7 separate regions of the Homo sapiens genome follow, and regions 1, 2, 3, 4, 5 and 7 are each linked to region 6. Evidence: promoter capture Hi-C in 16 types of primary human blood cells and fetal thymus (Javierre and others, 2016). All regions are on one chromosome and are shown on one strand. The core of a region is centred on a gene start or on the middle of the fragment in contact, and the rest is flanking DNA. Distances in the headings are between cores, read along the strand shown.

Region 1 (4,036 bases), core at 318-2,817, 460 kb before region 6:
CAGGAGGAATGTTCCCATGGTATAAATCACTAGATCTCAGAGACTGGTAAATACAGTAGTCCTCGTGGATAAGGAAGATATGTTCCAAGACCCCCAGTCGTTGCCTGGACTCAAGAATAGTACCAAACCGTGTATATGCTTATGTGTTTTTCTATACATACATACCTATGAAAAAAGTTTAATTTTTATTAATAAATTAGGCACTATCAGAGATTAACAATAACTCATAATAAAATGGAACACTTATAACAAAATACTGTAATAAAAGTAAGTGAATGTGCTTCCCCCTCCCCCAACCCACTACCACCCACCCCCAGGCCAAATAACTTAATATTTTTGGACCGAGGTTAACTGAGGGTAACTTAAACTTCAATAAGTGAAACAGAGAATACGGGAGACTACTGTGAACAAAGCCGCCACCCAAAAGAGGTTCCACTACAGGGTCTTTTTAGATTTGCTGTCTGTCGCCCAGGCTGGAGTGCAGTGGCGCCATCTTGGCTCACTGCAACCTCTGCCTCCCAGGTTCAAGTGATTCTCCTGCCTCAGACTCCTGAGTAGCTGGGATTACAGGCACACACCACCATGCCCAGCTAATTTTTGTATTTTAAATAGAGATGGAGTTTCACCATGTTGGCCAGGCTGGTCTCGAACTCCTGACCTCATGATCTGCCCGCCTCGGCCTCCCAAAATGCTGGGATTACAGGCATGAGCCACCACGCCCAGCCTAGATTTGCTTTTGAAAGCTCTGCCCAGTATTTCTATAGCCTGTCACAAGGCACAGCGACACTTGTTAACAATAAAATAGTGAAAAAATTTTCAAACAAGACTTAGAGAAGAAAATTAAGATCACCCACAATCTCATCACCCAAATATAAGCACTATTTACATTTTAGTGCATATCCTTCCAGTCTGTTCCATGTGCGTATATCCTTTTCTATACATATAATATCATTGAGATCATGTTAAATATAAAACTCTACATACCACCATTCACTTAATATGTAAAAAGAATACTCAATAACATTTTATACTTATAAATCTCTATATCAGGGAAGCTGTGACATCAGAATATCTGTGAACTTCTTGAATTTGTGTAGAGAATCATAAAGGTATAAGCATATTGGTATGTACTTCTTTTGGGAAGGGGGTCCATATTTTCATCAGATTCTCAAAATGGTCTGTTACCAAAGAAAAAGGTTAAACACTACAGCATTTAAGTTTTCAAAGCACTTTCACATAAATTACAATACATTCACAGCTGCTACATATTTAATATTTTACTTTTAACTGATCTCAGGTGACATTTAAAGGTTCATTGACACAAGGCAAACCGTACCTTGCAAATACATGCACTTGAACCACAAATGCTCAAGCCAGACCCTTAGCTTGTGGGTGAGCCGTCCCGTTCCCCAGCCTCCCATCACAGGAAAGCTCCCTTAACCTCACATCATGCCTCACTCTTGTGAAATGGTTAAAACAGCTTACAAAGGCGTGGATAGAGCTGACCCAACCAGTTTAGCCCAGAGCTGTTCCACTGCCTCAATCACTAGGGCTCCTGGACAGAGCTTGATTTTAGGGCAAGACTATTCAGATCATTTAAACCCAAAATTGGATCTCTCAGGCAAATTATTGATTCACCTATATAAATTAAACTAAGTCAGCTATTATTCGAGTCTCGCTTCCATAATGAATTGTACACAACTTCAGTGGACTCCACCCTTCAGAGCCCTCCTTGAGTCTGTTCTGGTTACATTTATTTAACGGTGACAAAGTTTCCTTTCCACTTTGTGCAGCATAGCTCTCTTCTCTCCACTTCACAGAAGTCACGTTCTCTGTCCCTCGGCACACGCTTGTATCTTAATCTTTATTTTTCCAACTCAGTTGTGGAATTCCACCAGGAAAACCCTTTCTTGCTCAAGAAGAACTGCGGGTACAATTTCAGCTCACCTTGGGTCTGTGTTGCCCCAGGGAGCCCAGGCTGAGGGTGAACAAGCTGCAGCTGCCACTTGAACAGCGCTTTCTCAGGTCTTGAGCCGCTTTGCGTCATCTCTGTTGCTTCAGTGCCTCCAGAAGCCCCTTGGTGCTCCCCCCAAGGGTAGCGCTCACCACGCTACATTGTAAATGCTCATTTAACCATTGTCTCACCCCCCAGACCACACCCTCTGTGAGGGCAACACCTTGTCTTGTTCACTGCAGTGTCCACGGCACTTAAATGCAGCACTCAGAATGAAGGAGTGAACAAATGAGCCAATGGGTGAGTGGCTGAATGAATGCAGTGAACTAATTCTTTTTCACTGAGCAAAGGAAGGCGGAGAACTTGGAGTGAGAAACAGGAGGGCAGAGTAAACAGGAGAGATAGAGAAAGAAAGTGACAGAGACTTGCCACCTCTGGGAAACCAACACTAGTGGCCCAACATGACCAGAATCCCCCTGGTCAGCTTCTAAGGAACGCTCTATGGGTGTTTTATGTAAACATTTCACATGGCTCACGCCTGTAATCCCAGCACTTTGGGAGACCAAGGCGAGAGGATCACCTGAGGTCAAGAGTTCGAGACCAGCCTGGCCAACGTGGTGAAACCTCATCTCTACTAAAAAATACAAAAATAATTAGCTGAGTGTGGTGGTGTGCCCCTGTAGTCCCAGCTACTCTGGGAGGCTGAGGCAGGAGAATCACTTAACCCAGTAGGCGGAGGTTGCAGTGAGCCGAGATCGCGCCATTGCACTCCAGCCTGGGCGACAGAGGGCGACTCCGTCTCAAAAAAACATTTAAAAAATCTAAAAAATAATAATAAGTGAAGAGGGAAAATCATTCAATATAAGAATCCCCCTCTAAAGGAGCCAAGCAGGTAGGTCTAATAATTCAGACTGTTCCTCTGCTCCATGGTGTGTGGAATGATTTACTGCATCCATAAAGGAAATTGCAGGACTTAGAGCTGAGAGACACTCCGGAGGCCCTGAAACTGGTATGGCGCAGACACAGAGCTGTGTCTGAAGATGTGGCTCCCGGGACTGGAGGGTCTGCAGCTGCCCTGAGCCCACAGGTGACGGTGTTCAAAAGAGGAGCGGCATCAGCAGTGGCTCTGTCCCACGGCTGATTAACGCAACGGAATGTACAGTCAGCAAGGGGGTGCTGCCTGTCAGGCTGTGGACTTACTGTCTGTCCCAGACTGGCTTTGTTCAAGTTTAAGGGCATTGTAATATTTAATATGGCCTGTAGCAATTTCATACCATTTGTAAAAATCATGAGACTATTTAATATAGAAAAAATATGTTCAAGCTTCCACCTAGAAAAATAACTGTGTATAGAACAGAATAAAAATGAGTTCAGAAGAATATTAGCTGATTAACACATTCTATTGAGTTAAGAAACTAGAACCCAGATATACGGGCACAACCAGGAAGGAAAGTGGGAATCTTAAAGGAAGAAGAAGCTTCAGATTAGAGAAGAGATGACCTTTGACTAAGAAGTCCCTAGTAGTCGTACTTAAAGCTTATCACCAAACTCGAACCAATTGTACAGTGTCAGTTAGTAAATCCTAAATCGAATGATCAGCATGTTACCTAGGACACGGCTGCGGCCCTGCGTTCCAGTCGCTATGCTATTCTTTCGCTGTGATGAGTTACTCTGTGTAAAGCAGGGGTCCCAGACTTTTGATTTATGAACCAAGAAAAAAAAATTAATAGAAACATGGAACCAAAATAGGACTGTCAGCTTCCTTTCCCCATTGGTCAAGTAAAAATATGAAGCAAAAAAAGGAAGAGGAGAGAAGGGAATTACTATCTACCGTCACCATGATTTGGGGCAAAGAATAGACATTTTCACATTAAAAAACTAAGACCATAATCTCCAAATTTAAAAAGATGTGATTTTGTATTTAAGAAAACAGTCATTCATTGTTCTTTTCTCACAGGCAGGCTTTGGGGAACCAGGGGATGGAAGAGTGGAGAAGAATACGGGCTTTGTAGTAACACAGTTCAAATATCAATCCTGCCACCTATTAACGAGGGCAGGTAACTTCAGGTTCCTGAGACCTAG
Region 2 (3,544 bases), core at 282-2,781, 490 kb before region 6:
TCCTTTTTTATTAAAGTGTTTCAGATGCTGCAGTCATGAATGATTTTTGAATGTTTATTATTTACCTAATACAGGCAAGAAGATATAGTAGAAGATAAAAAATGAATAGAAAAGAGATAGTACTACCCAAATGGAACTCTATTAGGGAGGGGAAAATATGTGAAACATCCAAAATATATTTTTGACATTTTTACAGAATTAAATAATTATAGATTATACGGTATTCATGATCAAGAAGTGCTTTGGAATTTTATGCACCTAATGAATGTATAGGTGGGGAAAGTTGATCTATAAATGCACATGTATACTGTAAGGGATATGAATCTTTACTTTCACTGAACCACCAGACCTTAAAATTTTATAGGAGCAGAGCATCTCAAAGTCTTGATGTCTGTAATTTCATAAAGTATCATTAACACATTAAGTTTCAACTAAATTGAAATTAATTGTTTCATTTGGGGAGATTAGCATTTTTCTATTTCAGTGGCAGAATACTGATGTTTCAAGGGAATATATTTTGAGGATAACAGTCATAATATTAATAGTTGTTGTTATTATATTTAACACTCATTGGGAGCTTCTTGTGTCTCAGGAATCTTGTTAAGTCCTTTAGATGTACTATTTCATTTAATCCTAAGAACAACCCTGTGAGGAAGATACTATTATTATGTCCATTGTACAGATAAGGAAACCACCAACTTAGAGATGATTCATAACGCTTCTATGTTACTGAGCTGGTCGCTAGCAGCACTCAAGTGATTGAACATTCAACCCAGGCCCAGGTGACTTGCAACCCCGTGCTCGTAAGCTCTTAACTGGTCTCTCTCTCTCTCTCTCTCTCTGAAAAGGGCAAAATCTAAAACATGATTATCTGAGGGAGATGGGGTAGCTAGAAAAGTAGGATTCTATGAAATGTTATTCTGCTGAATTCTCAAGAACACAGTGTTTCTGGAAAGCTTAGTGGTTCTGTTGAGGTGATGTTCATTGATATTCTAAATGTGTTACTTTGTTTTATTTTTTTGTTGGTGGGGGAAGACTTTACTAGTTGGAATTACTAAAATCGCTTTAATAAAGTGCTTGCAAAGACTCAATCTGGTTAACAGTAAAGCCATTTGTTTCAGTCATGTCAGCAACTTTGGTTTTCATAAGGGTTTTAATGAATCGGAGAGTGGAATTTAAGAAAGCAAACAATCCAAGGAATACTCCTTATTTTTCTAAAATAGCAAAGCAAAAATGGGAACCCTTTCCAGTTTAGTTACAGCAAGTATCTATTGGAGTTTTAGAAATTCTTAGAGTACATCATTTATCATATAGAACAAAACTTGATTAATGAACACTTTTTAAAAGTCTTTTTAGGGTCCTATTATTATTTTAGTTGTTTAGATATAAAAATATTTTATGACATATTCACTGTTAAATTTATAGTGAATTGACATTCAGTGACATTTGTTTTTAAAGTTGTTTATTGAAATATGTAGTCTACCAGAAATAAGTACGGTTACCAACTACTGAAATCAATTTAATAGTAATTTGGTCTTGTTAGTCTGTTAAAAAGAATTATTGGCCTTCAGATATTTCCACAAAGCCCTTTGTTACTCATGAATCCCATCAAGATGCTATGAATAAAGACTGTGAATATCAATAAGTTTGAAAACATTCCATGCTCATGTTCAGGGTCATATTTTTCCCTGTCTTCTATGTTCCTCTTTGTGGCTATAAACCCAAACTTATGTGTTGTGTGTTTTTTCTATGACAATTATGGATATGACTTATTTACTATATGCTCTATGAGGTATAACCTAATGTCAACTGACTTCAACTATGTTTGCCATACTTCCAAAAAAATAGCCACTCATGTATCTGTCTGATCAGGAGGTGAACCGATGGTGCTGTATGAAATTGAGAACTAATTATCTCATAAACATTCTAAGTGGATATAAGGAATTATGTGCTCAGTTGCAACCACTAATTTATCGAAGCACCGGGTCTAAATACCTCAGGGAATGCACAGAAGCCTGATGGTTGAAAAGCCTTCAAAGCATTCTCTCAGCTAAAAAGTACAAGAATTGGGGCTCATATCTAGTGCCTTTTTGGACAGTTGGTCACAGAAGCTTAGAAACATTGGCACAAGTATTGTCAGGTGGAGCCTGGCCGTGACCTCTGTGAAATGGCTGTCATGAGCTTGGCAGGGTGGGAATAATGGCTCTCCTGCCACCATCTGTCACCCCTGTCCAAGACACCAGCACAATTTGAGAGCAGCTGTGGTTCCCTACCCTATTCTCACCCCATCCCCCCATGCCCAGCAGCTCCCTCCCTGGGACTTTGGACCTCGTGGGAAAAAAATGGAGAAGGAGGGAAAGAAAAGTACTTGAGGGTTTTGTAAATGTTCAGAAAGGGAGGGGGGTGCGGTAGAATTAAATCTACCCAAAGAAGAGCCAAAGAGCTTTCACTTGCTTTCCCTTCTAGCCAACCAGTAACCAGTAGGCCTTCATTTTATTGTCACATGTAAAACTCAAGAAGTGATGAGTAAGTAGCATTCAATTAGAATTTAATCTTTTTTGGTAGAAATGGTGTAAAAGTTTTCAATGAGGATATGCTGATTCCTGGTTGCATGTTCCACAGCCTTTGATGTTCAACCACATCATCTTGCACTTATAGCTAAAAGGTGTCAGACACCTAACATTGTCTTAGCAATCTTCTGTGGTTCCAGATACTGTGTGCATCTTACAGGCTGGAGTTGGGGGACACCGATGCTTAATGGGAAAACTAATGACTTTATACAGATCTTATAAAACTCTGCTATTGTCGGGGGGCAGGCATTTAGTAGATTAAGTTTGTAATCTAAGAGAGGAAACTGGGCAGGAAAGACAAGAGTGAGGTGAAGCACCACCGTGGACCAGAAAAAGGCTTGAAATTAGAAGCCTTTGGCAAAAGTGTGAAACTTTGCCACTTTACATTGTTCAGTGGGTCAGAAATTGTCAAAGATTTTCTTTTTTCTCCAAAGAGAAATGACGAGGAAGGAGAGACATTTTTTATTTGTTCTGGGTGTTTGTTTATTGTTTGTTTTGGACAAGGTCTCACTCTGTTGCCCAGACTGGAGTACAGTGGTGCAGTCACAGCTCACTGCAGCCTAGACCTCCCCGGCTCAAGCAATCTGAAAGAGAGACATTTCAAAATTGAACCTAAGACTCATGGTTTATCGCATGAGAACCCACAGCTCTCACAGAAACTCAAGAAATGTCTTAGTGAGGGGACTCAATCCTTTACACTTCGAGCTGAAAGGACGGCAGTCAGCCCAGCCAGGAGGTTACCTCAGCATAGACCAAGTAAATAAATCATTTGGTAGAAGCCATTTGAGAGTAAAGGTTACTAGAAAGTCATAAATCAACCAGCAAGTCGATGTATGGTTTTGCTAGAATGTAGGAGCAATTAGAAATTTTTAGAAATATTTCTTTAACTGTGCGTGACTTGAGGAAGAGGACTATGACCTAACTAACCAGTTACTATTATTATATCAAAATGAGATTTTAAAAAATACAGTATG
Region 3 (3,963 bases), core at 387-2,886, 390 kb before region 6:
TACAAGCCAGTAAGACCAACTAGCTCATTTTTTTTTATCCTCCAGAACAATTGGGAGGTGTTTGGGTTTTTTGTTTTTGCTTTTTAAAATCTCAACTGACTCATTTGGTGGGAACAAATTCACATGTCAGCATGTGGTCTGACCAATATGACCTATCTACAGGGAAAAAAACAACATTTTCAAATTAAGGTACATTCAGCAATTATACATTCTTGTTTTAAAAAATATATACTGACCAGCACCTAGCCATATAACAAAGAGCATGTGCCTGAGATTGCCACAGTGGGAAGATTGATCAACATCAGTCCCATTGTTTGAGTCAGGATAACTTGCTCACATTTCAGTCAGCTTGAGTAAAAGAGAACTTATTGCAAGATGAGAGGAGTGTTTCATGAAACTTGAAGAATATACACAGGAAGTCGAATCTTTGGTAACTAAACCCTTGCTCTGTCTATTTTTCTCTCCCTTCCCTATCCTACCCCAATGTCTCTCTGCTTCCCTCTGTCCCTTTGCTCCCTCCTCTGGCTTCCTTTGCAGATTGCCTCTGGCTCTCTCTGCTTCATCACCAGTCCTCATGGCCCAAAAAGGCTGCTGCAGCTTAGTCTTCTAGAAGAAGTCACCTTCATGGAATACAGTCTCGTAGCCTCTTAAGTCAAACTTTTGTGATTTCTATCTGAGTGCTTTGGGTAGAGTCAGATATCCCTGATCTACCTGTTATAAAAATAAAATGCCCAGCCCCATTGTTCAGGAAAGCTTATGCAGACACCTGTCTAAGGATGGAGGTTGACCTTTTCAGGCACCCCAAAAGTATTTGTCACATTTCTTGGATATACATTTGAATCCCTTAGCAAATTCCACCATATTCCTTCTGGCAGACAGTGAGGTGAGAGACAAATTATCCATGTCAGTGAACCTATATATCATGTTTGGTTTTATATGGCAGCACCCAGTAGAGATGGGACTGATAATACTGAGGTTCAAGGGATAATGCTTATCTTTGAAAGAAAAGTAGATGGAGGGGGGTAATTATTATAATAATTTTCAATGTATTAGTAGAAGCATCATTTATTTTTAACAAGAAACTTACTAGCTAAAACATGCACAGAATCCTTTGACTTAGGAATTCCACTTCTCAGAATGCATACTAAGGAAACAATCATAACAGTATTGATATGGTTTGGCTATGTCCCCACCCAAATCTCTAATTGTAGCTCTCATAATTCCCATGTGTCATGGGTGGGACCCCATGGGACGTAATTGAATCATGAGAGTGGGTCTTTCTTGTGCTGTTCTCCTGATAGTAAATAAGTCTCACAAGATCTGATGGGTCTATAAAGGGGAGTTTCCCTGCACATGCTCTCTTGTCTTCTCCCATGTAAGACATCCCTTTGCTCTTCCTTCGTCTTCGGCCGTGATCGTGAGGCCTCCCCAGCCTTGTGGAAATGTGAGTCCATTAAACCTCTTTCTTTTATAAATTACCCAGTCTCGGGTATGTCTTTATCAGCAGTGTGAAAACAGACTAATACAAGTACATAAAACATTATAAAGAGATATTCATTATAGACATGTATTAATATAAATGAAAAGAAGTTGCATATCTATTAATAGGAATTCCAATGATGAATTTATGTTCTATGCATGGGGTTGGCTATTGTGCACCCTTTAAAAATTATCTTTTTGAAGAGTATTTACTCACATAGGAAAATGTGTATAATATGCTAAGGGAAAAAAACAAAATCATATGCATCCTCCTAATTGTATTTTAAATTATTTACCTATAATGCATTTAAAGAAGATAAGAAGGCAATATATCAAAATGTTAACTGCGATTATTTCTGAATGGTGAGGGATGGGTAACTTTTATTTTCTTTTTTATTATTGGCTTATTTTCCAAATTATCTAAGATGGATGCATATTGTTTTTATAATTAGTTTCTTCAGCCTTTCACCTCACAACAGTGAATGCAATAAAATGAACATTCAAGAAGAAAAGAGAGAAGAAAAGATTACTGAACTACCATGATGACCAGAGTTGACTTTTATTTTTCAGCTCATCTTTTGTTGTTGTGGGAAGGGCCCACAGAAGCCAACAGTTTTGGTGGAACTCCGATCGGACAGTAGATGCTTCTTATTCCTTGTTATGAACTACAAATGCCCCGACCTCGTGTTTATGATCGCCAACAGTCACTTGTGCATTTCTGTCTCCACTAATGCATGGTGTGGCTAATTGGGTTTGTGAAAAAGGTCACTTCCATCTTTTTTTTTTTTAATGAATGGTTTAGTTTATTATTACAGTGGAGTGTTGACAAGCATGGCAGAGACTAAAAATATAGTTCCTTTTCAAAATAAAATATTCAGCATTTTGACTGGCTGCAGATTTATTTGGCAGTAATTTCTTGGTTAAAATTCCCTGAGGTTTCTTTATATGGCTATTTTGGTTCTTTATTTTAAGTATATCAGCATTTTTCCACAGCTTCAAGCTATTCTCATCTCAGCATGTAGGAAGTTAATAGGCAGCACAGAAGCTTGTTACTCCAATTCCAGTAAAAACATAATTGGCTCAAGCAGCTAAGATACCAGCACCATCCTTTCTGCTACCTTGAAGGACCAGCAAGAATGGCCACAAACTCAAACTCATCACAACAATCAGGCCCATTCCAGGCAGTGCCCATGAATATGGAATAAGGACCAGCAAAAATGGCCACAAACTCAAACTCATCACAACAATCAGGCCCATTCCAGGCAGTGCCCATGAATATGGAATAAGGACCGCTTGGAATTTTGTTTTTTAGTCTCAAAACTTTGTAAGATTTTTTAACGATATGCATAATAGGAATGCAATTCCATTTAAGGTGGATGCCCACCTAGATACACAACATATTCCAGTGGTACCACCATTCTTCGAAACATCTGTGAAATTTCTGTTTTGGAATCGCTTTCAGATATAGTTTATGGAGAAATACATCAGAAAATTAGTCTCGTTCATTTCTAATCACATATGAATCAGATTAAAAAGTTAGATTACTCAACTTATTTACCAGACTGGGCACCAGATGCCTTTTGCATTTTCTAAATAGCAGATTCTCTCGCAAAACCAAAGTTTGCCACCAATAAATCTTTCAAACCACATGCCTTGGTCTAGGATAGGAATTCCAATAAGATAATTCCAAAAGGGATTAGATTAATGGTAGAATCATTGGAATAAGTGTACAGTCTTCCAATCTAACAACTCTGAACTGGGCATTTGGATCCGTAAGATCAGGCACACTTAAAAAAAAAAAAATTAAGTGAGTTCCAGGCTCTGTTACAGGGGCTGCAGCAGCACATATATATCAGGTTTAGCCTTTGCCCTTTGACAATATCAGTCTTAAGAGCACTGACTTGAAGAAGTGATCTAAAATAGTATCTTAGAGTTATGCTAATTTGAACTACCCCAGTCAGAAAGATATGGAAAAGTGAGAAAGAAGGAAAATGTTTTAAAGGCCTTTTCTTTGTCTTTCTCTCTCTCTTTTTTTTTTTTTTTTTTTTTTTTTCTCATTTGCAGGACATTGAAACAAAGCAGGGAAGTGCATTTGCATTCAGCTAAATTTAATTTGCATGCCTAGATAACCTCTGGGAATTTGGGAGGCTACCTTAGCTGGAATGTGCAATTGTAGCTACCTATTTACGTCACAGTGTTTGTTATGAAATAAAGGACTAAAACCTTAAAATGCGGTTCAATTTAAATATCTTGATCACCATCAGTAGCAGCAGCAACAATTCTCTCACAGATTTCATCCTTGAGGAAAAGGCAGGAAGTCAGTTAAACTTAATTCGGCTTCCATCGACAAATATAATTTGGACATCAGGAATGGTGCCATGCAAAGACGCACACTCTCGTTCAACTCCTTCAGCTCAAGGAACTCATCCAAGTCACCTCAAGCATTAGGGTCTTACTGTGACTATAACAGGAATGCATACTCTT
Region 4 (3,561 bases), core at 311-2,810, 420 kb before region 6:
AAAAGAATCAAACTAGAAATCAGTAACAGAAAGATAAGAAAATCTCCAGAGACTTGGAAACTAAAGAAGAGTGAACTATTATGTCTTCTTGATGCATTGACATTTTGATCATTATATAATGTCTTTATCTGTGTCTGGTAATTTTCTTTGCTTGAAAATCCACTTTCTCTTTCTCTTTTTATTTCCAACTTGCCTATATCCTTATACTAAAGCAAGTTTCTTGTACATAGGATAGATTTTGGTGATTTTTTTAAATCCACGTTGCCAATCTCTGCCTTTTGATTGGTGTATTAATACCATTTACAAGCGTTGAACACTTTCCACCTAAGATTAGGGACAAGGCAAGAATATCCACATGCACTACTCTAATTCAACATAGCGCTCCAAGTGCTAGACAGAGCAATAAGTGAAGAAAAAGAAAAAGAAATAAAAGGCATACAGATTGGAAAAAAAGAAACAAAACTGTTCCTATTTGCAGATGGTAAGACTGTCTACATAGGAAATCCCAAGAATATACAAAAAAACTTCTAGAGTAAATAAATGAGTTCAGCAAGTTCACAAGACACAAAATTAACATACAAAAACCAATTATATTTCTATATATTAGAAATGAACACATGGGGACTAAAAGTAAAAATATAATGTAAATTAAAACCACCATAAGGTATCATTTCACACCTGTTAGGATGACTATTATCAAAAAGGAAAGCGATAACAAATGTTGGTGAGGGTCTGGAGAAAAGGGAACCCTTGTCCACAGTTGGTGGGAATATAGATTGTACAGCCATTATGGAAAACACTACAGACATACTTCATTTTGTAATGTTTTGCAGATTCTACTTTTTTTTCTTTTTTACAAATTGAATGTTTATGGCAACTCTGTGTCAAGCAAGTCTATCAACACAATTTTTCCAAAGCATGTACTCACTTCCTGTCTCTGTGTCCCATTTTGGCAATTCTCACGATATTTTCAAACTTTTTCATTATTATTATATGTGTTATGGTGATCTCATCAAGGATCTTTTATGTTGCCACAGTAATTTTTTAGGGCGCCATAAACCATGCCCTGATAAGATGACAAATTTAATCAATAAATGTGTGTGTTCTGACTGCTCCACCAGCTGGCTGTTTCTCCATCTCTCTCCTTCAAGCCTCCATATTCCCTGAGATACAATATATTTAAATTAGGCCAGTTAATAACCCTACAATGGCCTCTAAGTGTTCAAGTGAAGGGAAGAGTCTCTCATCTTTCACTTTAAATCAAAAGCTAGAAATGATTAAGCTTAGTGAGGAAGGCATGTTGAAAGCCAAAACAGACCAAAAGCTAGGGCTCTTGCACCAAACAGTTAGCCAAATTGTTAATGCAAGGGAAAATTTCTTGAAGGATATTTAAAAGTGGTACTCAGTGAATACACAAATGATAAAAAAGCAAAAAAGCCTCATTGTTGATATGGAAAAGGTGCTAGTGGTCTGGATAGAAGATCAAACCAACCACAACATTCTCTTAAGCCAAAGCCTTATCCAGAACAAGGCCCTAACTCTCTTCAATTCTCTGAAGGCTGAGAGAGATGAGGAAGTTGTAGAAGAAAAGTTGGAAGCTAGCTGAGGTTGGCTTATGAAGTTTAAAGAAAGAAACCATCTCCGTAACATAAAAATACAATATGAAACTGCAAGTGCTGATATAGAAGCTGTACCAAGATATCTAGAAGATCTAGCTAATTGATGAACATGGCTACACAAAACAACAGGTTTTCGGTGTAGACAAAACAACATTAAGTTGGAAAAAGATACCTTCTAGGACTTTCATTTCTAAAGAAGAGAAGTCAATGCCTGGCTTTAAAGCTTCAAAGGACAGGCTGACTTTCTTGTTAAGGGCTAATGCAGCTGGTGACTTTAAGTTGAAGCCAATGCTCATTGACCATTCTGAAAATCCTAGGGCCCTTAAGAATTATGCTAAATCTACTCTCCCTGTGTTCTATAAGTGGAAAAACAAAGCCTGGATGACAGCACATCTGTTTATAGCATGGTTTGCTGAGTATTTCAAGCCCACTGTTGAGATCTACTGCCCAGATAAAAAATATTCCCTCCAAAAGATTATTGCTCATTGACAATGCACTTGGTCATGAAGACCTCTGATGGAGATGTACAAGGAGATGAATGCCTGCTAACACAAGATCCATTCTGCAGCCCATGGATCAAGGAGTAATTTAGCCTTTCAAGTTCTGTTATTTAAGCATACATTTTGTAACACTATAGCTGCCATAGATCGTTATTCCCCTGATGGATCTGGGCAAAGCAAATTGTAAGGCTTCTGGAAAGGATTCACCATTCTAGATGCCATTGAGAACATTCATGATTGAAGAGAGGAGGTCAAAATATCAACATTCACAGGAGTTTGGAAGAATTGATTCCAGCCCTCATGGATGTCTTTGAAGGGTCCAAGACTTTATTTGAGGACGTAACCGCAGATGTGGTGGAAATAGCAAGAGAACTAGAATTAAAAGTGGAGCCTGAAGATGGGACTGAATTGCCAAAATCTCATGATAAAAATTGAATTGATGAGGAGTTTGCTTTTTAAGGATGGGCAACTAAAATGGTTTCTTTAGATGAAATCTAAGCCTGCTGAAGATGCTGTGAACATTGTTGAGATGACAACAAAGGATTTAGAAGATTACATAAACCCAGTTGATAAAGCAGCAGCAAGATTTGAGAGGATTGACTCCAATTTTGAAACAAATTCTACTACAGGTAAAAATCCTATCAAACAGCATTGCACACTACAGAGAAATCCGTCATGAAAGGAAGAGTTTATTGATGTGGCAAATTCATTGTTGTTGTATTTTTAGAAATGGCCATAGCCTCCCCAATTTTCAGCAACCACCACTCTGATTAGTCAATAGTCAACATCAAGGCAAGACCCTCCACCAGCAAAAAGATCATGACTCACTGAAGGTTCAGATAATCATTGGCATGTTTTAGTAATAAAATATTTTTTAATTAAAGTATGTACATTGTGTTTTTAGACAAAATGCTATTACACACCTAATAGACTACAGTGCAATATAAACATAACTTTTATTTTTAATGGAGAACAAAAAAAAGGTGTGACTCACTTTATTGCAATATTTGCTTCATTGTGGTGGTCTGGAACTCAACCCACAATATCTCCAAGGTATGCCTGTGTGGGGGTTCCTAAAGACATTAAAAATTAAAACTACTGCATGGCCTAGAAGTTCCACTTTTCTGGTATATACCCGAAGGAGATAAAATCACTACCTCATAAAAATATCTGCTCCAATGTTCACTGCAGCATCATTCACAATAGCCAAGATATGAAAACAACCCAAGTCTCTGTCAATAAATGAATGGATAAAGAAAAAAAGAAAATGTAGTGTTGCTGTATGTATCCACACACACACACAATGGAATATTATTCAGCCTTAAAAAAGGAGATCCTACCATTTGCCACAACATGAATGGACCTAAAGGATATCATGCTGAGATAAACCAGACACAGAAAGAAAAATGTTGGATGATCCCACTTATATGTGGAATCCTTTT
Region 5 (4,009 bases), core at 273-2,772, 370 kb before region 6:
AGAACCAAGGACAGCCTCTTTGCTCTGTTTGGAGAAGCCTCAAGAAGTCTCAGTGGCCAGCAGTCAAGTTTCAAATGCCACCATTGCAGATGGGGGCCTTGGGGTTAGAGCACCACTCCTGGACACAAACACACATTTATGTCCAACCCTGGACCAGGAGAAATCGCAGAACCAGCATCCCAGGCCTGACCCTCACAAGGCCTGGCCTGGAGCCTGCCTCGGACAGAGGACCCAAGCCACTCTGAATCTCTCCACAGCCATGTCTCTTAGTCAGCCCGGCTGCTATAATGAAATGCCAGACGCTGGGTGATTTAAACAACAGATACTTGTTTTTGCATCATTTAGAGGCCATAAGTCTGAGATAAAAGTGCCAGCAGATTCAGTTCTTCATGAGGGCACTCCTCCTGGCTTACAGATGGATGGCCACCTTCCTGACATGTCCCAATATGGTCTAGAGAAAGAGAAAGGAAGAAAGAACAAGAGTACATGCTTTGATCTCTCTAACTCTTCTTATAAGTGCTCTAATCAATCCCTTCTTAGGGCCTTCCCCTCCTGACCTCATCTAAACCTAAAGACTCCACTTCCAAAGGCCATCATATCGGGGGTTAGGGCTTCAATATATGAATTTTGGAGGGAAACATTCAGTCCATAACAGCATGTGAACTAAGTAACATGATGAGAATGGGTCAGTTCACAGTGGACCATAAAGCTGAAGGGTCGTGAGGCAGAATCGGGCCTGGAAAAGCCAAGTCCAGAACAAGCTGCACTTGAGCCGGGGACAGGAGACAGGGAGCAGAACTGAAATCAATGAATAGAGATTGGAAGCCACTTTTGCTGTGAGGCAAGAAAAAAGCCGTACTCCAAATCAGGTTAAGGGAAGAGCATAAGAATACATTTCCACAACTGTGACTGCTGAAGTCCCCAGGACCTCCTGAAATCAGTAATCTCCTTCCAGCTCCAGCACGCACGAGGACAGACTCTGCTAGGCTCCTGCCCTAGGATGTTAACGACTTATTTTTTAGGTGTGTATTCCTATCACAGGCTTCCCTTTCCCTGAGTTTGTCTGACTCAAGGCTGACTATTACAGTCACAGGGGGCAAGTAACATCTCAAAGGCCATCCCCAGCTGAGCAAGCTGAGGTCAGATCCCTAGAGAAAGGGGCTGTTATGGGTTCAATTGTGTTCCCCAAAAAGGTATGTTGCATCTTAACCCTTGGAACCTATGAATGTGACCTTATTTGGAAATAGGATCTTTGCAGATATTTTTAAGATGTAAATTAAGATGATGTCATATTGGCCTAAGGAGGGCCTTTTATGCAATATGACTAGTGTCCTTACAAAAGAGAAGAGATAGAAGCACAGAGACACATAGGGAGAAAGTCATGTGAAGATGGAGGCAGACAGGGGAGTGATGCAGCTGTAAGCCAAGGAACACTAAGGATTGCTGCAACCCCAGAAGCCAAAAGAAAGCCAGGGAACACTTTCTCCCCTAGACCCTTCAGAGAGAGCATGGCCCTGCTGACACCTTGATTTCAGACTTCCGGCCAGAAAGAATAAAGATATGTTGTTTTAAGCCACCCAGTTTTTGGTAATTTCTTACAACATTCCTAGGAAACTAGCACGGGGACTTAGGTGTTTTTAGAGAGTGAATTCAGAAGAACCCCGGAACTCCTGGATTTGGCCAAAGAGGATGGACGTGAACAAGAGCTATAGCTGGAGACTTTGCATGTAGGGGTCTTGTGAAGATGCTCTCTGCCTGCCTGGGGCAGGGGAGGCAGGAGGAAAAGAGAAGGTAGAGGTTCCTATGCAATAACTCTCCATTGAAGTTGTTGCCTCTCCCTCTACCAGTGATCACTGAAGTTCCAGGATGTCCAGTGAGTAAATACTGACTACAATCAAAGAACAAGAAGGAGGAAGGAAAGGAGGTGATGTGAGGCAGGGAGAAGCCTTTGCTCCAAGTATATAAAAAGACTGCTTATGATTGATTTATTCAACCAAGATTTCGTGAATGCCTATAATGAGCTATGTCTTATACTAAGCACAGAGATTGCAAGGTTGAAAAGATGCGGTCCTTCCCCTTCAGCAGGTCACCATCTGGGTAAGGTGATGGGTAAGTCTGTCTAGCAAATGTATTATAATAGAGCAAACGCAAGTGCAGCCCTTGCAGCTACAAGGGGCTTCTCTTTGGGTGCTGAAGTTTGCAGGGTAGACTCTATGGAAGGGAAAAGTAAGCTGAGTCCTAAGGGAGCTGTGGAAGTTGGCCTGACAGATTGCTCAGTTGGAGGGTAGGACATTGAAACTACACCATGGAAAGGAAGGCAACAAAGACTGCAGCCCATGGAAAAGCCTGGAACCTCATACAAACAACATCTCAGATTCTGTCTCTGAGCTTCCTCAAAGTCCTCACTTTGCTGAAAGGTGCTTTGATAATCATGCTTTTTGTGTGTTCGGACTCGGTAAAGGGCCCTTCTGCACAGGCCATCCCCCTGAAGTTACTAATCAGTGATTTGGTTTTATAAAATTTCGCACGTCTTTCTTAGATTTCATCACTCCATGGAAAGGAGCCCCACTTTCCAATGCTCTTACTAGGCACTTAAACAGTAGTTGCCTAGCCAGCTTTTACCTGTTCACAATTTCTTCCTTTTCATGCATGCTGAAATGGAGATTCTGACGCTGCCTTGGACTGGTTCTGATAAATGTTCCCATATAAGAGTTTTCAAACATGGAAAAGCTCTTTAGAGACTACTCTAAAATAATATTACATCAGAAGCAAGTTCTTCTCTCCAGATTGCTATAGGTCAATTTTGAGAGGCTAGAATTTTTTTAAATGCCTTTTGTGTGGCAGCGATAACAAATCTGTACTACCCTGTCACTCTCTGTCCCCATCCTGTCACCCAGGCCAGGGTTATCTCCAGCAGTGTCCCAAGGGAAGGTTTGAGAGCCCCTGCTCTCCTTGGCAGCATACTCTGATATTTTGTGCCTTTCCTGTATCTGGTTAGGTATATTTATGAATCATAGTACCTGAGTTTAACCAAATAAACCACCTCAAAATAGACAAGCAACTTGAAAACACTGAAGACAATGAATAATGCAACATCGAGTCAACACCAAAAGGATAGCAGAGCTGCCACTTCCACACATTACTTGAACTCTTCATCAGCTAAAAACCAATCATCCACAGTAAGAAAGATACAAATATTAATAATATTTTTGTAGGAGGATTATAATGGAATAAGCTTGGGTTGGTTTTTCAACAATATTTTAATGTTAAAATGAACCATATTCATATTTGAGTATATTTATCAAGCAAATTTAGAGAATTCTCTGCTCAACAATTCATAGATCTGTTTTCTATTGTTGCTATAACAAATTATCACCAACTAAGTGGCTTAGAACAATACAAATGTATTGTCTTATTGTTCTGGAGGTCAGAAAGCATAGAATCAAGGTGTCCGCAGGTTGTATTCCTTGTGCAGTTTCTAGGGAAAATATTATTCCACTGCCTTTTCTGTTTCTAGAGGTCGCCAACATTCCCTGTATCTTTTCCTCCATCTTCAAAGACAGCAACATGGGGACCTTCAGATCTTTCTCTCTGACTTTACCTCCTGCTCTGTTGTCACATTTCCTCTGACTCTGACCCTCTCGAGTCCCTCTTATAAGGACCCTGTGATTACATTGGGACCCCCGGATAATCCAGGATAATCTCCTGCTTTGAGCAGGAGGGAAATGTGAGCTGCCTTTGCACCTGTATGAGTCTCCTATTGTTGCTGTAGAAAATTACCAAACACAGTGGCCAAAAACAGCACAAATTCATTATCTTACAGTTCTGGAGGTCAGAAGCACAAAACGAGTCCTACAGTCAGGGTGTATTTGTCAGGGTTCTCTAGAGGGACAGAACATATATATATATATATGGGAGTTTATTAAGTATTAAATCACATGATCGCAAGGTCCCACAGTAGGCCCTCTGCAGGCTGAGGAGCAAGAAGAGCCAGTCTGAGTTCCAAAAC
Region 6 (3,949 bases), core at 288-2,787:
TCTTGAGCGAGGGCACGCTTGTAAACAACACCAGGATAATAGGTAAATGTTAAAATAAAATGTGTCATGTGGTTTATAAAAGACCTAAGACACAGCAGAGGAACCCTCAGGTAACTCTGCTTAGAAAGGAGGGAGAGCTTCAAAGAAGAGATGATGCTTGATCTGAGATTTAGATAATAAGTAGTAAGTTTGCCAGAAGGACAATAGTGGAGAAGAATATTGTTTAGAAGAAACAGCAAAAGAATGGTAACAATGGTACGGGAGAGTTTGTAGTGTTTTCGCCAGGTGGAGAGGAGGGAGGAATAGCTGCGTGCGAGGGAAAGCGGAGCACGGCAGGAGGTAGTTATTGTACAATATTGCAACTTATTTCACCTTCTTTGATAGGCTCTGCATTCCATGTGGGTAGGACCCTGTTTGTAACTAATCTCTCCTGGTCTCAGTTTCTTCCTGACTCTGATACATTCTCCACACCGCTGCCTATTATCTTCTCAAAACAAGTATGCCATGCCTCAATCCTGCTTTTAAAGTCTTCAAGGACTCTGATCATCAGTAGGGCACACAAGACTATTCACGACTGACCTAGGCGTATCTGACCACACTCGAGTCTACCATTCCACGACTCACACCAGTCCTTCCAGCCACACCAAACTACTTGCCGTTTCCAGAAAATTCCAAACAAAGAAAGTCCAAGCTAAGAAAACCCTCATTCCCATTCATCTTTGAAAGAACTAGTTCAAGTGTTCTATATAGTATTCGCTAGCTTTGCTTCTTCCCACCCCCCACCAAAGAAGCCGCCCTCTTCTGGTTTCCGTGGCAACTTACACATTCTTCTACCATAACACATAGAAAACTAAAATGGGTTCCTGTGTCTACTTCCCCCAGTGGAAAAATCAGACCCTCGGGGGCAAGAAGCCAAGCCCAGGACTTAGCCCAGTGCCTCGAAGGCTCAGTCCACACTCCAGACAACCTCTTCCTCCTCCACCTAAGCGGTATGCCCACACTCGCTGCGCCAAGCACACCCTAACTGCCTTCATCAAGATTTAACCGATTACACACCAAGCAATAGTTCCTATGTTCCTCTCACGAGTAAACACAATAAAGGCACAAAAGCTATGGGTATTGTATGTGCAGCTCGAATCACACACACACACGCCCCACACACACACTCCCAAAGGCAATTAATGACCGCAAGCACCGTCCACCGGACTGGCCAACACAAAATACGGGAGAAGGGCTGCCAAGGCTCAAACGAATTCCCGTCACAAAAACTTTTCTAGCCAAGGCCGGTTAATAAAATAGCCCAGTCGCGGGCACCAGCAGCCCAGAAGCTCGAGCTCTAGCCAATCTCTGCCCTGGACTGCGCAGAGAAGGGAAAGTAGGGAGACAAGCTCGGGGGCCCCGGCGACAGGTGAGTGGGGCTCAAGCCTCACCACGCGGCCGTTCTTCGGTGTACAAGTCGATGACGACGTCGCCTAAAGTGGTCTCCAGTAGAACCGCCATGGCGCCCGCTCCTCCTCCGCTACAAACCCCGGGAGGAGGGGGGTGACAGGCGCAGGCCGACGGCGTCGTCTACGCCACGCGTCACCCTCGGCGCGACCCCTTTTGCGTCATCTCGCCGGCGCCGCCCCCGGTTCCGAGCAGTTCCTTCCGGTCGGCGTGCGGGCGCCGGGCTGCCCAGCTGACTTACGGATCGGGTTGGTCCCGCCCCCGGCGCGGCCGTTTTGAAAATCCTGGTCCGCCCTTGGCGATTTTGGTGGAAGCCTGTCCCTCAGAACGGTCTCAGTATAGTGTTTTGTGCCCCGTTTGTGTCCGTCTCAAGAGCAGAGCGGCCCTCCGCGCGGCCCTTTTATCCACCAGGGGGCGCCCGCGGCGGGATCTTCTCTCCACCTATTTGGGCGGACTCCTCCGGGTTTCCTCGTCAGTCTCCTTTTCGCAAAACAACTTTGGGCCTCTACTAGGGGTTTCCGATTCTAAGAACTAACATTTTGTTTTGTTTTCTGTTTTGAGACAGGGTCTCGCTCTGTTGCCCAGGCTGGAGTGCAGTGGCGCGATGTCGGCTCACTGCAACCTCCACCTCCCGGGCTCCAGCGATTTTCCTGTCTCAGCCTCCCAAGTGACCACAGGCGCGCGCCACCACGCCCGGCTAATTTTGTTCTTTTATTTTTTGTAGAGATGGCGGTCGGGGGAGGTGGTCTCACTATGTTGCTCAGACTGGTCTCAAACTCCTGAGCTCAAGGAGTTCGAACTCTTCCCGCCTTGGCCTCCCGAAGTGCTGAGATTACTGGCGTGAGCCACTGCGCCTGGCCAAAACTAACATTTTGCCATGCAAGTTTATTCCCCAGACACTCTTCTGGGCAAGCCTGTCACTCTTTCTTATGACATTTTACACATAATCTCCAATAACTTCACATCTGACGAAAAGCCAAAGCTTTTTTTTTTTTTTTTTTTTTTGAGACGGAGTCTCGCTCTGTCGCCCAGTCTAGAGTGCAGTGGCGCGATCTCGGCTCACTGCAAGCTCCGCCTCCCGGGTTCACCCCATTCTCCTGCCTCCGCCTCCCGAGTTGCTGGGGCTACAGGTGTCCGCCATCACGCCCGGCTAATTTTTTGTGTTTTTAGTAGAGACCGGGTTTCACCGTGTTAGCCAGGATGGTCTCGACCTCCTGACCTCGTGGATCCGCCCGCCTCCGCCTCCCAAAGTGCTGGGATTACAGGCTTGAGCCACCGCACCTGGCGGAAAAGCCAGAGCTTTTATAATGATTTACAAGATCCTCTCCTACCCCATCCTACGCCATCTTCTTATTCCTCTGAAGCCACAGTAGACAGTTTGCTATTCCCTGAACACTGCTGACATACTCCTGCCCCATGGCCTTTTCACTTGCCTTGGTTGAGGGACCTCTTCCTCCAGTTATTTGTATGGCTCCCATTCACCTCCTTCAGGCGCTTTGGCGTCGGTCACCCTGTCAGTGAGGCCCTCCATGGCTGCCATAATTAAAATTAACCCCACAGACACTTCTTTTTCTCCATATAGCTTTTTCTCCAGAGTACATTTTACAATCTAACATGCTATTTACGAATTTGTTTGTTTGTTTATTGTTACTAGAATGTGTGTTCCAGGATATTCCATCTTGTCTGTTTTGTTTAAAGCTATATCCCTAATGCGTATGACAGCCTGGTACACAATGTGCAAATAAATGTTTGTTGAATGAATAAATATGGTTTTTCGGTTTGGGTTTTTTTTTTTTTTTTTGAGACGGAGTCTCGATCTGTTGCCCAGGCTTGAGTGCAGTGGTGCGATTTCAGGTCACTACAACCTCCGCCTCCTGGGTTCAAGCGATTCTCCTGCCTCAGCCTCCCCAGTAGCTGGGGCTACAGGTGCCCGCCACAGCGACTGCCACCACAATATTCATGGCTGGGCGTGGTGGCTCATGCCTGTAATCCCAGCACTTTGGGAGGCCGAGGTGGGCGGATCACCTGAGGTCAGGAATTTGAGACCAGCCGGGCCCATCATGGTGAAACCCCGTCTCTAATAAAAAATACAAAAAAAAAAAAAAAAACTAGCTGGGTGTGGTAGCGCATGCCTGTAATCCCAGCTACCCAGGAGGCTGAGGCAGGAGAACTGCTTGAACACGGAAGGTGGAGGTTGCAGTGAGCCGGGATTGCGCCACTGCACTCCAGCCTGGGTGACAGAGCGAGACTCCGTCTCGAGGAAAAAAAAAAAAAAGAAAGTGCTCCCATACCATGTTCCATTTATGCCTGATATGTGTTTAAGGGTTAAAAGTAAAGCCAACAAAGGGAATCCTAAGACTGTGAGTTCTGGGTCATTGTAAGGTTCCTCAGTGCTGTTGAACTGAGCAAACCATTTAGGACAGACCCAACAATTAGTCTTGTTGTAGAAATGGGCCATGGCGGATATTGTAGGAGCTAAAGGGTGTGACGTATTACTAAGTCC
Region 7 (3,818 bases), core at 448-2,947, 480 kb before region 6:
GTACTTGAAGGACACAATATCACATTTTATTGATGTATAATATTTTACATATTTATGGGATATGTATGATATTTTTTTCCATGCATAGAATGTGCAATGATCAAATCAGGGTGTTTAGGGTATCCATCACCTTGAGTATTTATCATTTCTATGTGTTAGGAACATTTGAATTTTTTTTTCTAGCTACTTTGAAACATACAATACATTGTTGCTAACTATAGTCACCCTACTCTGCTATGGAGCATGAGAACTTACATCTTCTATATAACTGTACATTTGTACCCATTAACCAACCTCTCTTCAGCCCGCTCTCCAACCCAGACATCCTTCCCAGCCTCTGGTATGTATCATCCTACTCCCTCCTTGTGGTCAACTTCTTTAGCTCCCATATATGAGTGAAAATACACGATCTTTGTCTTTCTGTGCCTAGATTATTTCATTTAACATGATGACCTCCAGTTCCATCCATGTTGATGCAAATGACATGATTTCTTTCTTTTTTATGGCCAAATAGTATTCCATTGTGTATAATACCACATTTTCTTCATTCATTCATTGATGGACACAGGTTGATTCCATATCTTTACCACTGCGAATATTACTACAGTAAACACGTGAGCATGCAAGTGCAGGTATCCCTTTGATATGTTGATTTCATTTCCTTTGGATAGATACATAGTAGAAGGGTTGCTGGATCATGGTAGTTCTATTTTTAGTTTTTTGAGAACTCTCCATACTGTTTACCATAGTGGCTGTTCTAATTGGCATTCCCACCAACAGTGTATAAGAGTTCCCTTTTCTCCACATCCTCACCAGCATCTGTTATTTATTGGCTTTTAATAATAGCTATTCTAACTGGAGTAAGATGATAGCTCATTGTGGTTTTGATTTGCATTTCCTTGATGATTAGCATGTTGAGTTTTTTCATATACCTCTTGGCCATTTGTATGTCTTATTTTGAGAAATGTCTATTCGGAAGGATATAATGTCACTTTTGACAGAGTTATTTACCTGCTCTGCCCATCCACCAACTCCCCCATCCTAACCATAGAGGAAGGCATTCAGGGAAGAGAGTTTTATTGTCATGAACTAGGAGTAACCTTATGGCAGTTGACCCAGTCACCTAATCGTAATCAAAGAAAGAAATGTATAAACCCATTATGCTGTAACTTTAAAGAATATTCCCAAAGTTTTTCTGGCCTGAAATTAATAACCATTTATATAGCAAATCAACTCAATCCATTATATAGACCAACATTTTGCAAGTGATTGAAGACTAGTAAAATGTGATTGGTATTTCTCAGATAGTTTTGTAGTCAAGGTATTTATATGATTACACTTGCTGTCCATTGTTTTTAGGAAATTACTGTTTCAACCTTACGACAAAGAGCTTTGAGGCTGTGAAATAGAACAGATTTCCAAATTACTTCTTTACAAGGATCTAGGCTCCCTTTTGCTTATCCCCTTGGATCCTTTGCCAGGTTGGGCCAAATAATTTAAGTAATGAATTTATTTTAAATCACAGGAGTCTTACTTTTTTGTGTATCAGATAACAAAACCCTACACAATGTATAGTGCTCTAAGAGGAAGGGATTGAAGGAGGCTTTCAATGAGAGAATTATTTTTCCTCTGCCTCTCAATGTTTGACTTAAAACTCTTTATTTCTTGTCTGTCTTTCATAAGATTTTTTAGCTCTGTTTTAAAAAACAAAAAGGAACACCTAAGACCTGTGAACAATGACCCGCCCCAGATTAGCTAGAGTTCATATCTTCAGAGAAGACAGATATTATAAAATGTTCTGTTAGGAACCCATTTCAGAAGAGTCTATGCCAAGTTATTTAACAGAAATTCTAGAGTGTTCAATGTGTGTTATGTTTTTAATTTCAATGAAGACCATGTTATCTATTTACAAGGATCTAGGCTCCCCTGTGCAAAGGACCCAACCTGGCAAAGGACTTTCAAAAGAGTCAGTTTGAAAAGTAATACCCTTATTCAATGAGGCTGTTGGCCACATAGAGAATTTATTTATTTTTTATTTTAATTAATACCTAATGGGGTACATGAGATGTTTTGATACAGGCATGCAATGCATAATAATCTCATCATGGAGAATGGGGTATCCATCCCCTCAAGCATTTATCCTTTGCATTACAAACAATCCAGTTATGCTCTTTTAGTTATTTTATTATTATTATTATTAATTTTAGACAGAGTCTCGCTCTGTCGCCAGGCTGGAGTGCAGTGGCGCAATCTCAGCTCACTGCAACCTCTGCCTCCCGGGTTCAAGCAATTCTCCTGCCTCAGGCTCCCGAGTAGCTGGGACTACAGGTGCATGCCACCACGCCCAGCTAATTTGTGTATTTTTAGTAGAGACAGGGTTTCACCATGTTGGCCTGGATGGTCTCGATCTCTTGGCCTCGTGATCCACCTGCCTCGTCCTCCCAAAGTGCTGGGATTACAGGCATGAGCCACCATACCCGGCTCTTTTAGTTATTTTTAAATGTACAATTAAATTATTATTGGCTATAGTCACCCTGTTGTGCTATCAAATAATAGGTCTTATTCATTTTTCAATTTTTTTTGTACCTATGAACCATCCCCACCTGTCCCCAATCCCCCACTACCCTTCTTAGCCTCTACATAGAGAATTTTTCAAATTCCTTCTTTAGAATTGCTACTGAAGGCTTCAGAAGGTACCTCAAATATCCTAAAAATTGGGAAGTCTATGTCCTTTCAGATGAGTCTGATTTTGGAAATAGCCATTTGGAACTGTATTTAGTAAATTATATACCTATTCAAATTTGTTGACAAAAATTTTAGTCAAAAGCAAGATTATAAAAGAAAATGTGAGGGCAAATCTTCATGACCTTGGATTTGGCAATGGCTTCTTTAATATGACACCAAAAGACAGGCAATAAGAAGAAAACAGATAAAATGGTCTCCATTACAATTAAAAACTTCTATATGTCAACCTTGGATTTGGCAATTTTTTTTAATGTGACACCAAAAGTCAGGCAATATGAGAAAAATGGATAAAATAGTCTTCATTAAAATTAAAAACTTTTATGCATCAAAGAACACTATCAACAGAGTGAAAAGACAGCCTGTGGAATGGAAGAAAATATTTGTAAATTATATACCTGATATATGTGCAGATTATCTAAAATATGTAAATAACTCCTTCAACTCAACAATAAAAACAAACAAAAGCAAACAAAAAAAAACCCCACTTCAAAAATGGGCAAAGGACTTGAATAGACATTTCTCTAAAGAAGATATACAAACAAACAGCATTTGTTGGACACATGCTTGTCAAAAAGCACATGAAAAGGTCATTAGAAATTAGGGAAACCATTAGCATCAGCATCACTACAGGAGTCATTAGGGAAATGCAAATCAAAACCACAGTGAGATACCACTCCACACTTACTGGGATGGCTACAATTTTAAAAAGGGAGGAAAATAACAATCGTAGGAGAGAATTCGAAGAAATTGGAACCTTCACACATTGCTGGTAGGAATGTAAAATGGTGCAAACACTGTGGAAAATAATTTGGCAGTTCTTCAAAACATTAAACTTAGAATTACCGCATGACCCAGCAATTCTGCTCCTAGGCATATACCCAAAATAAGTGGAAACAGGGACTCAGATACTAGAATGCAAATGTTCATTATAATAAGCAAAAGATGGAAACAACCCAAGTGTCTCTCCAAGGATGAAAGGATAAACAAATTGCGTTCTATCTATACAATGGAATGTTATTCAACCTTAAAAGGAATGAAGTTCTGGGCCAGGCATGGTGGCTCACACCTGTAAT

Evidence for each region. Contacts are between HindIII fragments. The CHiCAGO score rates a contact against its expected background, and 5 or more counts as called.
Region 1: a contact is called between a fragment that was not itself captured here and the fragment with the promoter of PPIL4 in region 6, in 7 of 17 cell types (non-activated CD4 T cells, naive CD4 T cells, activated CD4 T cells and 4 more). The highest score is 14.4, in non-activated CD4 T cells.
Region 2: a contact is called between a fragment that was not itself captured here and the fragment with the promoter of PPIL4 in region 6, in 15 of 17 cell types (non-activated CD4 T cells, naive CD4 T cells, activated CD4 T cells and 12 more). The highest score is 23.5, in non-activated CD4 T cells.
Region 3: a contact is called between a fragment that was not itself captured here and the fragment with the promoter of PPIL4 in region 6, in 3 of 17 cell types (naive CD4 T cells, naive CD8 T cells and total CD4 T cells). The highest score is 7.8, in naive CD4 T cells.
Region 4: a fragment that was not itself captured here is called in contact with the fragment with the promoter of PPIL4 in region 6 in 6 of 17 cell types (naive CD4 T cells, non-activated CD4 T cells, total CD4 T cells and 3 more); the score reaches 9.7 in naive CD4 T cells.
Region 5: a contact is called between a fragment that was not itself captured here and the fragment with the promoter of PPIL4 in region 6, in 1 of 17 cell types (activated CD4 T cells). The highest score is 5.4, in activated CD4 T cells.
Region 7: a fragment that was not itself captured here is called in contact with the fragment with the promoter of PPIL4 in region 6 in 12 of 17 cell types (naive CD4 T cells, non-activated CD4 T cells, total CD4 T cells and 9 more); the score reaches 32.7 in naive CD4 T cells.

Annotation. Positions count from the first base shown.
Region 1 is chr6:149,086,599-149,090,634 of GRCh38, forward strand. No RefSeq gene overlaps it. Among named protein-coding and RNA genes, the nearest start is that of UST-AS2, 56 kb to the left of the region's middle. The HindIII fragment of the contact is 3,416 bases long and covers 1-3,275 here.
Region 2 is chr6:149,051,774-149,055,317 of GRCh38, forward strand. The region is part of intron 7 of UST (uronyl 2-sulfotransferase); the gene reads left to right. Among named protein-coding and RNA genes, the nearest start is that of UST-AS2, 21 kb to the left of the region's middle. RefSeq lists an enhancer at 2,642-2,761. The HindIII fragment of the contact is 1,155 bases long and covers 955-2,109 here.
Region 3 is chr6:149,154,237-149,158,199 of GRCh38, forward strand. LOC124901426 (a long non-coding RNA gene) reads left to right here. Exons shown (of 2, transcript XR_007059807.1): 2 at 2,050-2,370. Among named protein-coding and RNA genes, the nearest start is that of TAB2-AS1, 100 kb to the right of the region's middle. The HindIII fragment of the contact is 1,771 bases long and covers 752-2,522 here.
Region 4 is chr6:149,122,055-149,125,615 of GRCh38, forward strand. No RefSeq gene overlaps it. Among named protein-coding and RNA genes, the nearest start is that of UST-AS2, 91 kb to the left of the region's middle. The HindIII fragment of the contact is 560 bases long and covers 1,281-1,840 here.
Region 5 is chr6:149,172,114-149,176,122 of GRCh38, forward strand. No RefSeq gene overlaps it. Among named protein-coding and RNA genes, the nearest start is that of TAB2-AS1, 83 kb to the right of the region's middle. The HindIII fragment of the contact is 3,422 bases long and covers 1-3,233 here.
Region 6 is chr6:149,544,506-149,548,454 of GRCh38, forward strand. PPIL4 (peptidylprolyl isomerase like 4) reads right to left here and starts at 1,538. Exons shown (of 13, transcript NM_139126.4): 1 at 1,431-1,538. The coding sequence starts at 1,500. RefSeq lists enhancers at 1,428-1,727, 2,431-3,107. The HindIII fragment of the contact is 2,652 bases long and covers 1-2,426 here.
Region 7 is chr6:149,068,583-149,072,400 of GRCh38, forward strand. The region is part of intron 7 of UST (uronyl 2-sulfotransferase); the gene reads left to right. Among named protein-coding and RNA genes, the nearest start is that of UST-AS2, 38 kb to the left of the region's middle. The HindIII fragment of the contact is 7,123 bases long and covers 1-3,818 here.